Regions from separate parts of the Homo sapiens genome. Here all the other regions are linked to region 3. Evidence: promoter capture Hi-C in human tissues and cell types (Jung and others, 2019). All regions are on one chromosome and are shown on one strand. Each heading gives the region's core, a stretch centred on a gene start or on the middle of the fragment in contact. The rest is flanking DNA. Distances are from core to core; before and after follow the strand shown.

Region 1 (2,700 bases), core at 181-2,680, 530 kb after region 3:
GTTTGGGTTGTGCACTGTGGGGGTGAGGACAGGGATGAGAAAAGGGCCTCTCTCCTCTTCCTCTTTGCCTGCCCTTTCTCTCCTCATAAATCTCCCAGCACAGAAAATAAAATCACACTCCTGCACATAGCCTGTCCTGTATTCTGTTTAGTTCTCTTGCACACCCTCTGTGGGCTCCCAAACAGCAAGAGCTGTGTTCCCACCTAGCCTGGAGCTAGGCACACAGCAAAGGGTTGGATAAAGAATGCCTTTGAGGCTGGGCGCCGTGGCTCACGCCTGTAATCCCAGCACTTCGGAAGGTCAAGGTAGGAGGATCGCTTGAGCTCAGGAGTTAGAGACGGGCCTGGGCAACATGGGGAAACCCCGTCTCTACCAAAAACACAAAATTTAGCCGGGCGTGGTGGCCTATGCCTTTGGTTCCAGCTATTCGTCAGGCTGAAGTGGGAGAATCGCTTGCACCCAGGAGGCAGAGGTTACAGAGAGCTGAGATGGCGCCACTGCATTCTAGCCTGGGCTACAGGGCGAGCCTCTGTCTCAAAAAAAAAAAAAGAAAGAAAGAAAGAAAAAGAAAAAGAAAAATTCCTTTGGGACAAGAATGTGAGAACAAGGAGGAAGGGACTCGTGGGAATGGGGATGGGGAAGTTAAGGAGAATAGACTGGTCAGAATGAGTCCATGGGGTAAAGTGAAGTGAAGAGATGGGAATGGTGGATAAAAGGAGAGAGGTAAGAAACGGTGGATTGGGGTAGTATGGGAGAGGAGGCCGGGATTAGTGGGAAAGAGTAGGACAGAGTCAGAGGTCAGTGGGAGCACTTACCAGAGGTCACGGGGGTGAGAAGGCTGGGGTCAACAGAGAAAAGATCAAGGATCAGTAGGAGAGGTATGATTAGTGGTCACTGGCGACGACGAAGGTCAGAGGTCATCAGAAGGAAGGTGTGCGTACGTTACCTGCTTATGAGGCTGTTTATGGGGAGCCTTCGCAGAAGCAGGAATCATCTCAACCCCTGGAGAGCCTACAAAACGCTCCCTCGTCTGAAGACAAAAAGTTTGTCCGTCTCCTTGACCACACACAAGAAATCTGGACTCTCTTCCACTTCAGTTACCAGTCGCAACGGTTCTTTAGGGACAGCCGTCGTTGTGGGTCCCCGTGCCCTTGCAGGATAGAATCCAACTCCCTGACGCGGTTACCCAGCAACCGACCAGCAGCCAAGGCGCAGGCGCTTCGGCGCGCCCAGCCGGCCCGGAAAGGAGGCGGGGTTGGGCGCGCGGCGAGCGAGTCTCCACTAAGCCCCGCCCCCTCAGGAATCACAGCTGGGCGGCCGCGCGCATTCGGAACTCCCGCATGTGGGTGGGGCTGGGGTCCCCAGGCACCGCCTCCTCATGAATAATGCAAGATCCGGGCGGTGTCCCGGACCCGGAAGTGGAGTTGCCGAGTCACCGCAGTGGCTGAGCTGCTGACAGGAGGCGGCAGCGGAGTAGGAGGCGAGGCAAGACCTGCGGCTCGGCCCGGCCACAGCCGCGGTAGTGCTAGGCAAGCCCACGGAGTCACGCCGGCCTCAGCCAGTCTGCGAACCTCTCGCCCCCGCCCACCCCTGCATCCGCCCGGCCCCTGCCCGCCCGAGTGGTCCGGGGAGGCCTAGTCTGCACCACCCGCCGGGCTCCTGGGGCCGCCGCCCCGCGCGGTCCTGTCGGCGTCCGCGGCCGCGCCCGGCCCCTGGCCCGCTCGCCCGCCGGCACCATGATGGAGGAGATCGACCGGTTCCAGGTGCCCACCGCGCACTCGGAGATGCAGCCGCTGGTGAGGGGGCGGGCGGCGGGCAGGCCAAGGCCGGAGGGGGCGTCGCTTGAGGGGGAGGGAGGGAATCAGGCCGGGGGGATCGTGCGGAGGGGCGCCATCGGATGGGGCAAAGAGATCCCTGAAAACGTATTGCCGGGGGACGGGGACTTGCAGGACAAGAAAACCGTGGGAGAATATGCTGGATGAGAGCAAAGGGACCTGTAAGGGCGGAGGGCACCGTCGGTGGAAGCAGGGCACCGTCGGATGGAACGGAGGGGGCACAAAGGTGCACACCGCTAGTGGAGGCCCATAGCAGGGACTGGCGAGGGAACTGCCATGGGGCACCGCCGGCGGCAGGCCCAGGGGTCTGGGATGGGAGGTGGGGAGGCGTTTAGTCCTAGAGGCCTGTGATGCTTAGGGCGGGGGAGCCGTCAGGCTAAGAGAGATTGGGAATCAGCTTTTAGAAGAGGAGGGGCTTGCCCGCCTGTCCGCTGGATATACGGACAGGAACGCTGGGCCGGGGCGAGGGACCCAGTGGGGGAAGGTGGTTGGTGCAGAACCTGGGAATTCCGTTCTCCGGTGGGGAGCGCAGGCAGACCAGGCTGGGGGCATCTAAACCGGGAAGGAGAGTGCGCGGCGACCAGATGGGGAATCGGGGTGCAGATGAGAGTGCTCGGGAACCGACGGGAGAGGAAGTGGGGTCGCGCTGGAGCTGCCTGTGCGCACTGGTTGGGAAGAGCCCCCATCATCTTAGGCCTACGTGCCTGAAGTCCTTGCTGGGCGCGGATCCTGCCGCCTGTCCGCGGTCCCGGAGTCAGGGAGGAATGATGTCATCGCTGCTGGCGCGGAGGGAATGGAAGGGGGAGGGCAACTCGGGTGCACCGAGGCTAGGCCTAAGGGAGACCATGCTTGCTGGCCACCGCCC
Region 2 (2,700 bases), core at 131-2,630, 760 kb before region 3:
ACCATATTAAGGGAGTAAGAGAGCTCCTAAGATGGAGCTGAACTGTGGGCACTCTGACCAGGAGCTCTAGCAAGACAGAATTCTCTGGGTCTTACCTTCGTAAGAACTCAATTTCAATTGTTCTCCCTTCCAGCCAGAGTCCACTCATTCAATAAATATTTATTGAGTGCTTGTTCCATGCCAGATAGTCCTTTGTTCTGTCTGTCCTCATAGATTGCAGTTACTCTCCCTGGTTGCCCTAATCCTCGGCCACACCCTCCCTCTACCAGTCCTTTCTGGTCTCTAGTTTCAAAGTCCGGTTTTCTCTAAGCTGGCAGAGAGGATTCTCTGCCTTCCTGTCATCCCATCCTTTGTCTTCCCTCTTCTTTCCACCCCTAGAATGTGCTGTCCCTTTTTATTTTATTATTATTTTTTTTTTGAGACAGTCTTGCTCTTGTCACCCAGGCTGGAGTACAATGGTGCAATCTCAGCTCAGTGCAACCTCCGTCTCCTGGGTTCAAGCGATTCTCCTGCCTCAGCCTCCTGAGTAGCTGGGATTGCAGGTGCCTGCCACCACAGCTGGCTAATGTTTTTGTATTTTTAGTAGAGACGGGGTTTCACCACATTGGCCAGGCTGGTCTTGAACTCCTGACCTCACGTGATCCGCCCACCTCGGCCTCTCAAAGTGCTGGGATTACAGGTGTGAGCCACCGTGCCTGGCCGCTGTCCCTATTCATTAATCACATTTCTTCTCCTCTGCTCCAGTCTGTTATCTCTCTTGTGCCCCATCATTTGTATGTTCATTCATCTGTAAAATTGGCAAATATGCATTGACTGCAGACCATATGTCCTACCCTGTGCTTGGACCTGAGGGTAATATTCAGCTAGTCTTTGTCATTGTCCCTTTCCCCAAGGAACTTAAAAGTATGTCAGCCTCACATGAGGAACATTGAAATAACAAGGCAATGTCTGATTAGGAATTGAGATAACAGTTTGTATATATGAGTAATAATCATACCTGTACTTTATGGCTTTCTTATCTATTATGTCATTTGATCTTTCAACCATTTCATTAGATAGCTAGAGCAGGTGGTATCCCCATTTTGTAGATGAGGAAACTGGGACTTAGGGGTTACTTACCCAATTATTTGGTTAGAAGTGGTGTGACTGAACAGTAGGCATAATGTGGCAGTAGGCAGGAGAGTGGAAATGGGAAAGAGTCTGGCAGGGCAGGGGCTACTTAGTGAGGACCCATCTGGAATGAGAATTTGTAGGAAATAAGATTAGAAGATAGGCTGGGACAGATGTCAGAGCCTTGAAAACAGAATCGTTTGCCTATTGAAAACAGCCTCAATCATTTGCCTCTTGGATATAGGGCTGTACCAAGCCCAGGAAAATGTTGGGATTTTTTGAAGGCTTTACCAAGAGCAAAATCAGAAAGCTTCACAGTTTAAATGTTGAATTTAAAAAAAAAAAAAAAAAAGGCTTGAGAGGAAATGTCCAGAAATAAATATAAACACTGATTGTCTATGGGTGAGATTATTTTTTTCCCCCTTTCACCTTTCATAATTAGAAAGAAAAATGATCATTTTAAAAAGAAGAAAGGCCAGAAGCGGTAGCTCACGCCTCTAATCCCAGCACTTTGGGAGGCCGAGGCGGGCGGATCACCTGAGGTCAGGAGTTCAAGACCAGCCTGGCTAACATGGTGAAACCCCATCTCTACTAAAAACACAAAAAAATGTGCCAGGCATGGTGGCGGGCACCTGTAATCCCAGCTACTTGGGAGGCTGAGGCAGAAGAATTTCTTGAACTTGGGAGGCGGAGTTTGCAGTGAGCCAAGACCGAGCCACTGCACTCCAGCCTGGACAACAAGGAACGAAACTCTGTCTCAAAAAAAAAATAATAAATAATAAAAATAAAGATAAGAAAGTTATTCCCAGCAGCCTATGCCTGTTTTGGAGGTAGGGGATTGGGGGCGGAGGCTGTAGGCCAGGAAACCATAAATGGTCCTTTCAGCACGTCAGACAGAAGCTCCTGATGTTGGAAATAAAGCAGTGGTGGTGGTGCTAGAGAGGTAAGGAGAGATCAGAAAGCCCCTTCTGAGGAGAACAAAGGAGAGAAACAAAGCCACTCCTTCACTTCAGCTGGGGTGACTGGGAAGATGAAGGGACCTTGAACTGTATAGAAATCAAGAGGAAGAAAGGTTTGAAAGCAGATGTCCTTGGGACATTTAATGGGAGGTCACAGAGAGAGGCAGGTGACTCAGCCTGTGAACAGCTGCCCACCTGCCCCCTTCCACTCACATTGCCTCTTGCTCCTCAGGTACCTGCAGTGGTGGTACCGGAAGACCCATGTGGAAAAGAAGACACCTTTCATCGACATGATCAATTCTGTACCCCTAAGACAGATTTATGGTGAGCCCCACCCCATCTCTGCTCTGCTCAGAGAAGGCCTAGCCTCCAGGTCTACCACAGTTAGGAAGAGACTTCCAGCTTATGCAAATTGCACTGTTCCATCCCCTAGGTTTTCAGAGGAACCAGGCTTTATAGTCTAGAAAGTTAGAAATGGGCTTATTTTCCTCTCCCAATACCCCACTAACCACCCTGATTTCTCTAGGTTGTCCCTTGGGTGGCATCGGGGGAGGCACTATTACCCGTGGCTGGAGAGGCCAGTTCTGTCGTTGGCAGCTTAACCCTGGAATGTATCAGCACCGGACAGTCA
Region 3 (2,700 bases), core at 158-2,657:
TGGCTGATACAGAAAATGAGGTACTGATGGAGGGGGATGAGTGACAGATGGAAATGGCTGAGGTGGAAAATGGGTTAATGATGGGTTGAAAGGGAGGAATGTGGAGAGTTGAAATAATGGAGGAAATGTCTGTGGAAAATGGATACCTGAAGGGTTTGAGAAAAGGAATGATAAGGGGTGCAATTCATTCAAATATGTGGGTGAGGCCGGAGGGGGGTTCCTGTATGTCACAGAGGGGATGAGGATGAGTTGGAGGAAGCAGGAAGGCAATGGAGGGGATGGCCGCGTGGAGGGTTTGACTGGGTATGGGTGTGAGTGCCCTTCTCCGGAGGGACTTACCGAAACTTTACAAACCCATTCAGCGTCCACGCTCGAAGTTTTAAGGGCTCCAGCTGAATTTTAAACATCAAGCTGGCTAAGAAGTCTTCTCCCCAGGAGTGTGGGAAGCTCCGGAAAGCTCCTCGGGCCTGCAGTGGGGGTGCTGCTGGGGGTGGGCAGGAGAGCACTGTGCGCTTAAACATGCCCAGCCAAGCCCCTCACCTCTGATCGCTCCACCGGAGCCGGCCTGAAGTGCTGCAGCTCTGGAAGCCACCTCCTTGGACTCTCAGAGGCGCGTGCCCAGCAAGGCCTGTCTGGCGCAGCAGGTGCCGGACCTGATCCCCAAATGTGGAGAGTGAAGGGAGAAGACCCGCGGCCACCTGCTCTCAGGTGCAGCAGTGTCTGGCTGGCTGTGAGCGGCTGTATGGCAGCGTGTCAGTGAGGCTGGGAGTGCAAGCGTGTGTTTGTGAGTGGCAGCGTGTATACCTGTGACAGGTGTGATTGTGAGGGCCCGAGAGGCAGTGAGCTCCTGTCGCCTCTCACTGGGGAGGACCCGACCCCAATCCCCAAGAACCTACTCAATGAAGTCACTGACGGGAGTCTCCTCCCTCGCAGATGGGCGGGGCAGAGCGGAGCTCGGCCGGGACAAAAGGCGCGGCGAGGAGAGGAGGGGAGGGGGCTCGGGCGGGGGAGGGTGGTCGGTGATGTCACCCGCGCTGGCTGGCTGGTCTGCTCACAGATGCCTCCGCCCCACAGAACCCAATCTGGTCCGGTCCGACTCGACCCTCCCCTCCCCTCCCCTCCCCGACTCAGACGCTGGCTGCCCCCTGTGACAGCCAAGCCCTGGTCTAGGACTCCGAGCACCCTGCAGACCCCGGGGCCCCGCATCCCCAAGGCAGCAGAGCCTACGGGCCCTCAGTGTCCCAACCCCCCAACACCAGGAGCCCTGGCTTCACGACGCCCCGCTCCCGGGACCCCCGAGTCCTGGCTTGGCGCCCTCACCGGTGAGGAGCTGCGGGCGCCGCCGTGGTCCGTGAGACAGCCGCTGCCCCCTCCCCCGGCTCCGGCTCCGCCGCCTCCACCCGGGACAGGAGTCGCCTGCCCGCCGGCCGCCGATAGCGGGACCGGGAGCCCGCCCCCACGGCTCCGCCTCCGCGCCGCCCATTGAACCGTCTTCCTGTCACTCAGCTCAGCCTCCACTGTGATTGGGCAGTTTTCAACAAGCGGCTTGGTGATAGCCGCCCATCCTCCGCCCCTGTCACCCGGCCACACGCGCACACATTCCAGGCAGTGATTGGTGTGGATCTGATTGGCGCCCTCTGGGATCACTCAACCACGCCTCTTTGCCATCTTGTCGTGCCATTGGTGAAAAAGACAGAGGGCGGCAACCTCGCTCGCCCTTTGATTTTATTGGTTCGTGCCTGAGACTCAGACCCGAGCCCGGGGGCAAACTATATTAGTCCAATCTCCGGGTTGAGAAGGTGGGACGTACTGGCCACTGCTCGAATCCCAGGAGAACCTTCTGGAACCCTTGCGACGTCAAAGGCAGCCTTAAAGGAAAACTGTACCCACCAGTTGGCCGTGCGGCCGTGCATTCTTTCCTTTCTTCATTGGGGGGCAAGAGGGAGAGAACAGTGCACTCTGGGAGGTGTAGTCCCTGGACCGGGGCCAAAAGGTCAGCACTTCTTACTCGCCTTTCAGCCAACGGTGTAACCACCTCAAGCTGACCTCATTTAGCTTTACCTTATCCTGACCCCGCGGTGGCCTGATGTGACCTAACGGAATCTCTAACAGACCCCACGGATGCCGGGTTTCAGAGCCCCCCGGACCTCTCCCCCGAGGGAAACGGATGGCTCTGCCCAGGCCGGTGCCTCCAGGAATCTCCCCCGCCCACCCTCTGTACAGCCCCTCATCCTCGCGCCCCTCTTCAGCGACCCCGCGGTCTCCATTTCAGTCCCTCTTCTAATCAGTCTCTCATCCTGCTTCCCCCTGGAGTGCCTGTGTTTTAGCCCTTTCCTTCTTGGCCCTAGATGATCTCCTGTCTTCCTTCCCGCAGTGATCCCTTTTGTCTTATTCTTGGTTCTTTCTTTACACCCCGATCTCCTATCCTAGCTCTCCCCTTTCATCTTTCATCTCACTCCCCAAGATCCCCTTCCTTAACACCCTCAGAATCTCTAGTCTCCCCCACCCCCCATTAAGTCATTAGATCTCAGCCCCAGTGTCCCCGATGCAGGGAGCAGGCGGGGCTGCGGAGGCGGTCGCCAGCGGAAGCCGCCACTCCAGCAGACACGGTGCCTGGCGCCCACGTCACTGTCTCCCAGGCCCATCTGTGCTCGAGGGAGCGGGGGTGGGGAGGGAGTAATTTGGGGGTGAAGTGGGGGA
Region 4 (2,700 bases), core at 43-2,542, 910 kb before region 3:
TTCAAAGACAGAATGAAGGCATTATTGAAACTTAAAACAAAAATTATAAAACTTCTAAGAACAAACAAGAATAAACTTAACAAGAGATGTGGAAGACCAATGAACAAAAGAAAAAGCAAGTCTTCACTGACAGCTGTGAAAGAAGACCTGACTAACCGAAGCACCACACCATGTGTCTGAAAGGGAGGAGCCCGCATTATAGTCCAGGCTGCACTTCAGGGGATATGGATCCTGTGAGACTTGCAAACAACCTGCCACAAGCATCTGTTAAATAAATTCTTATATGCTATAGAGGTAATATTTTTGAAAAGTAGTAATATACTTTTTTTGAGATAGGATCTTGCTCTGTTGCCCAGGCTAGAGTGCAGTGGCATGATCAGAGCTCACTGCAGCCTCTACCTCCTCCCAAACAATCCTCCCGCCTCAGCCTCCCAAGTAGCTGGGACTCCAGGTGTGTGCCACCACGTCTGGCTAACTTTTTTATTCTTTGTAGAGACGTGGTCTCGCTATGTTGCCTAGACTGATAACCTGCTCTTTAAAGTTACTTTTCCAAATATGTAAGTTTCTTCCTAGTTGTTCCAGAGCATTTGTCTGGAGAGAGAGTTGAATTATTACAAAAAGAATGCAAGGAGAAGGACTTTAATATGCATGCAGTCTTTGACCTTCAAAATTGGACTTTGCCCTGTAAGTCAAGCCAGTTTCCTAAGAGGATTTTCCAAATTCTTTTTTCTCTCCCTTTCAACACACTGAATCAAGGACCAAACGAGGACCCAGCCCATGCAGATCTCCTATAACGTAGAAAGCTCCTCCATTCCACATGCGACAGCCATGTAGCCGAAGTTTGAAGCTCTAAGGTAGATGGAGGCCATGATATCCAGGCCTGGGAGAAGCCTGGTTCCTTCTGGCCCCAAAGGATGATGGGAAGGAGAGAGAAGAAAGGCATGAAGTGCAAAATGTGTGCAGCAGCTGCTAGGGAGCTTCAAAAACAAATGGGGAAGGCTACAGGAAGACAGGGCTAGAGGTGAATACACTGAGGCACTGATGTTATTTGGATGGGGAGTGTGGTCTGCAAAATCTAGGAATTCATGAAAATGTGACCTCATTTGTACATGCAGGGTGGTTAGTGCTGGCAATGTTTGTGTTACACCTATAAACACGCACAGACAGAAGTCTGAAGAGCTACAAGATGCAATCTTTATAGGGCTTCCTCTGAGCAGTGAGTTTGCAGGTGACTGCTTTTTATTTGGCATTTCTACATTTCTAAAACTTGCAACAATAAACATTTTACTTGTATAATAATGAAAGCAACAAAAGTTACAGCACCTTTAGAAAAATATTCAGAAGCATGCCCACCAAGTAGAACAGGTCTGCAAAGTGATCCACCTATTCACCAACGAAGAGAGCAGCTAGACCCCAGAATCATAAGCTTCATTGGTGTCATTTTAAAGATGCCAGCCAGGCGCGGTGGCTCATGCCTGCAATCCTAGCACTTTCGCAGGCCAAGGGCGGCGGATTGCCTGAGCTCAGGAGTTCGCAACCAGCCTGGGCGACACAATGAAACCCCATCTCTACTAAAATACAAAAAAATTAGCCAGGTGTGGCGGCGTGCGCCTGTAGTCTCAGCTACTCAGGAGGCCAAGGCAGGAGAATCGCTTGAACCCGGGAGGCAGAGGTTGCAGTGAGCCGAGATCGCGCCACTGTGCTCCAGCCTGGGTGACAGAGCGAGACTCTGTCTCAAAAAAAAAAAAAAAAGATGCCAACAGGTGGAAGAGGTCTCCTAGATTCACTGTCCTTGGGGATGTGTGGGAGCTGATTAATCCAAGGGGACTGCTTCTCCTGCCTTCCCTGGGCAGCATGTCCATGGGCTTTGAGACATGTATATGCAGTAAACATAGTGAACTTTCTTGAGCCTAAGTTTGCCCTCATGCACAACGAGGGAAGAACTGGAGACAGATTGAATCTGTGCAGTCTAAGATTTATTGCTCTCTGGATTTTCAAGTCTCTGTAATTTTCTGAAATCATTATCTAAAGATAATTGTGACACTTAGAATTATATTCATTGATATAACTAACATCTGTTGAACTAGACTCTGTGCCTGGTGCTGAGGCTGGGTAGAAAAAAGACAATCCATGCCTTCCAAGAGCTTTTTACCTAGGACAGGAGACAGAAATATAAATTATTACAACACACTGGGTAAATTCTGGGACCTAAATATTCACAAGGAAAGCACAAAAGGAGTCATTCATAAGCAATAATCTCCTTTCCTTTTCCTCCCCAACTATTTTAATAATTGCTAGAATAATTACACTTTACAAATGTATCTTTAGATCTCACAACAAACCTATTGTCCTCACATTACATAGGAGGCTTAGAGAGTTAAAGCTCTCACTGTTGCCCGGCATGGTGGCTCACCCCTGTAATCCCAGCACTTTGGGAGGCCAAGGTGGGTGGATCACCTAAGATCAGGAATTCGAGACCAGCCTGACCAACATGGTGAAACCCCATATCTACTAAAAATACAAAAAAATAGCTGGGTGTGTAATCCCAACTACTCAGGAGGCTGAGGCAGGAGAATCGCTTGAACCTGGGAGCAGAGGTTGCAGTGAGCCGAGATCGTGACACTGCACTCCAGCCTGGAGGATACAGTGAGACTCTGTCCCCCAAAATAACAAATAAATAAATAAAGCACCCATTCTGGG
Region 5 (2,700 bases), core at 113-2,612, 620 kb before region 3:
TAATCAAGTTGACCCACAAAAAATAATCTAAACAATGAAAATAATTTAAATTTAACCACATGTGGCTAGTGGCTACTGTATTGGACAGCACAGATAGAGAACATTTCCGTCACTGAAGAAAATTCTATTGGACAGCACTGTTCTAGGGGATACAGAGAATAAGACCAGTTGAGGCCTTTTATATGTGGTTTGCCTAAAGGAAAGTTCAGGAAAGCCTCCCCTGAGAGGAGATCCTGTTGCCTCTCACTAGTCCTCCGTAGATCCACCAGGCCTGTTGACTCCCTTTATCCTTGGGGGTGAAGGGGGGTGGGGATCCCTCCTTCCTGGCCTATCCTCACCTCTGTAAGAGCGTGCAGCTGTCCCTGGTGCACACAGACTCCCATGAACCTGCAAGAGGATGGGGAAGATAGAAGGATAGGCTATTAAAGGCCTCAGCTCCTCCTCAGTTCCACTTTTCCCGCGGGATCTTTCCCTTTCTCTCCCGCCCAGCAAGCTGCCCAGAGACTGGGGCCGCTCACCTTAGGATGTTGGGGTGCCTGAGCCGGTTCATCAGCTGCACTTCCCGTAGTGTGTTGCCCCGGTTACTGGGGAGCTTGTTCATCTTCAGCACCATGACTTGCCCTGACTGTCGGTGCCGAACCTGGGGGCAGGAGCAGCCGGCGAGGGCCGGGCAGGTCGGGCGGGTCGCCGGAGTCTGGACCCTCTTCCCCGCACTCCCGGCCCCCTAGTTTCAGCCTCTGGTTGAAGGCTCGGTCCCGCCCCTCTGCCCTCTCGGCCGGTCCTACCTTGTAGACCTCAGAGAAGAAGCCGGCCCCGATCTTCTCCGCGCAGTGAAAATCGTCCACACGCGCCAGGCTAGACACGGCGCTGCGGAGAGCCCGGTAGGAGGAGGGGCGGCCCCGGCCCGGGCCTCCGCCCGTGCCCCCCGGCCCCGGGGGCCCCTCCCCCGGCACCTCTCCAGGCCCGGGCCCAGGGCCCCGCAGTGGGGGCCGTTCCCCGGCCATGGCCGGGCCCCCAGCCCGGGCCTGCCTCACATGGCAGGGTCCCCAGGGCCCGGGCAGGCCGCGCTTGCCATGGGCGCGGGCCCAGCCCGATCCCGGGCGCCCGGACTCCGGCTCCCGCCCTGAGAATGGAAGATCCGCCGAAGATCCTGGACCCGCCCCCGCCGCGCCGGCTGGCTGGGCCCGGGTGGACGCCGCGCCGCTCCGCTCCGCGCAGGGCCTGGGCTTGGGCCTGGACCGGGCGGTGGCGGTGACGGTGGCGGCAGCGCTCCGGGGCGCCGGCGGGCTGGCTTGCCGCGGGCGGAGGCGGGCGGGCGGGCGGGCGGCGGCTGCTCCGCTTAGCCGCCGGGGATCAGGCTCCGCGGCCTGCCGGGGGCGGGGCTGGGCCGGGCCTCCGCTTAACTCCTTCCAGCCCGGCCTCCCGGCAGCGGCCACGCCCCCTCAGGTGCGCACCCCCGCCTCCCCGCTTTCCGGCCGCGATGCCCTGGGCCGCCCGGGTCAAATAAGCTCCGGCCTGAGCTTGAATAACGGGAGGGAATTAAGGGCTGATGGTGCGCATGCGAAGCTTAGCTGCCCAGGGAGTCCCCTCTCCTCCCTGGGTTACTGTCCGTTGAGGGTCGGGCTCAGAAACCTGCCGGATTCCTGGGCTCCAGGGACCAACGGGGCAGAAAGGTAGGCCCCTCAGGCCCAGCCGCAATCAGAGGTAGCCTAGCAACCTGTCCACCTTCCTGGCCTGCGCCCCGGCCCAGCCTGCCCATTTCCCAGGTCTCTTCGACTCCGACACCTTGAACCTCTGGCCTCCCTAACACCTTCTACCTTCACGGGAGGTTGTGATACCCCGGGGCTATAGGAAGCCTTTGGCCGGCCCATACCCAGCTTAGCCCCGACTCCTCCTCACTTCATCCTGCCGCCTCCCAATAAAGAAGAGAGTCCAGGTCCTCCGCCCTGTGACCACCCAGCCGGGACCTCCCTCTTACTACTTTGCCCAAAAGACTCTAAGAGAGAAGCCTCCACCTGCAGGGAAGCCCGTCCTTCCGCAAGATCCCACCCCCCTCAAAGAACGCTGTCCCTCGGAGACCCCTCCCTTCCTCAGTGAGACACCTCCCTTTCGGGGGCACTTTTCCCCAGTGTGGCACTGCCACCGTCAGTGTGTCAGAACCCCTCAGTGCTGCACCCCCTTGCTCTGTGTTCCTCCCACGCAGTGAGACCCCACCTCCGAGGAAATCCACTAGTCATTGTGACCCCTCCTCTCAAGGTGACTCCTCCCCTCAGTGTGACCCAGCCCTCCTCAGTGTGAGGGTTCCGCCCTCCACGTAGGAACACGGTCTGCCCCCTAAGGCCGGAGGAGGGGCTGCAACTGGCCTCTTTAAGTCGGCGCGGTGCCTGGGTGCGCACGCAGTCTCAGGACTCCGTGCACTCGCCGTACCAGACGCTTCCGGTTCTGCCGCTGGTTCCTCCTCCGGCCTCGGCGAAATAGCCAATCATCGCTAGGGTTGGGTGGTGACACGCGATCCCGGCGGTCCACTCCGGGGCAAACGGTTTAAAAGGGCGTCGTTGAGCCGCCTGCCACCTAGCGGCGGAACGGTGGGCGGAGGGAGAGAAAGCTGCCGTCTCGAGTGCGGAGGCAGGCTGAGAGCTCCTCGAGGAAGCGAGGCTGAGTCCTGCAGGAATTCTCAAGTACTGTATTGATATTTCTGTA

The links. Contacts are between HindIII fragments. The study calls those that stand out against the background at their distance.
Region 1: a contact is called between the fragment with the promoter of FAM219A here and the fragment with the promoter of DNAJB5 in region 3, in 1 of the 25 tissues and cell types used here (hippocampus).
Region 2: a contact is called between a fragment that was not itself captured here and the fragment with the promoter of DNAJB5 in region 3, in 1 of the 25 tissues and cell types used here (dorsolateral prefrontal cortex).
Region 4: a fragment that was not itself captured here is called in contact with the fragment with the promoter of DNAJB5 in region 3 in 1 of the 25 tissues and cell types used here (spleen).
Region 5: the fragment with the promoter of TESK1 here is called in contact with the fragment with the promoter of DNAJB5 in region 3 in 1 of the 25 tissues and cell types used here (spleen).

What each region holds. Positions count from the first base shown.
Region 1 is chr9:34,457,300-34,459,999 of GRCh38, reverse strand. It overlaps FAM219A (family with sequence similarity 219 member A), which reads left to right and starts at 1,430. Exons shown (of 6, transcript NM_001184940.2): 1 at 1,430-1,796. The coding sequence starts at 1,737. DNAI1 (dynein axonemal intermediate chain 1) reads right to left here and starts at 1,195. Exons shown (of 20, transcript NM_012144.4): 1 at 947-1,195. The coding sequence starts at 994. RefSeq lists enhancers at 1,069-1,138, 1,235-1,529, 1,092-1,632 and a silencer at 1,509-1,758. The HindIII fragment of the contact is 10,660 bases long and covers 1-2,700 here.
Region 2 is chr9:35,744,308-35,747,007 of GRCh38, reverse strand. GBA2 (glucosylceramidase beta 2) reads left to right here. Exons shown (of 17, transcript NM_020944.3): 2 at 2,302-2,393; 3 at 2,596-2,700. Among named protein-coding and RNA genes, the nearest start is that of GBA2, 3.6 kb to the left of the region's middle. The HindIII fragment of the contact is 5,426 bases long and covers 1-2,700 here.
Region 3 is chr9:34,988,452-34,991,151 of GRCh38, reverse strand. It overlaps DNAJB5 (DnaJ heat shock protein family (Hsp40) member B5), which reads right to left and starts at 1,407. Exons shown (of 5, transcript NM_001349723.3): 1 at 1,321-1,407; 2 at 340-653. The coding sequence starts at 521. DNAJB5-DT (DNAJB5 divergent transcript) reads left to right here and starts at 1,773. Exons shown (of 2, transcript NR_109756.1): 1 at 1,773-1,993. RefSeq lists enhancers at 1-292, 293-1,222, 1,777-1,986 and silencers at 1,504-1,652, 1,167-1,666. The HindIII fragment of the contact is 21,862 bases long and covers 1-2,700 here.
Region 4 is chr9:35,894,255-35,896,954 of GRCh38, reverse strand. No RefSeq gene overlaps it. Among named protein-coding and RNA genes, the nearest start is that of HRCT1, 11 kb to the left of the region's middle. RefSeq lists an enhancer at 1,066-1,565. The HindIII fragment of the contact is 7,635 bases long and covers 1-2,700 here.
Region 5 is chr9:35,603,924-35,606,623 of GRCh38, reverse strand. It overlaps TESK1 (testis associated actin remodelling kinase 1), which reads right to left and starts at 1,362. Exons shown (of 10, transcript NM_006285.3): 1 at 786-1,362; 2 at 519-640; 3 at 339-387. The coding sequence starts at 1,004. RefSeq lists silencers at 497-756, 538-832, 767-936, 957-1,256, 1,287-1,536 and an enhancer at 2,017-2,126. The HindIII fragment of the contact is 8,874 bases long and covers 1-2,136 here.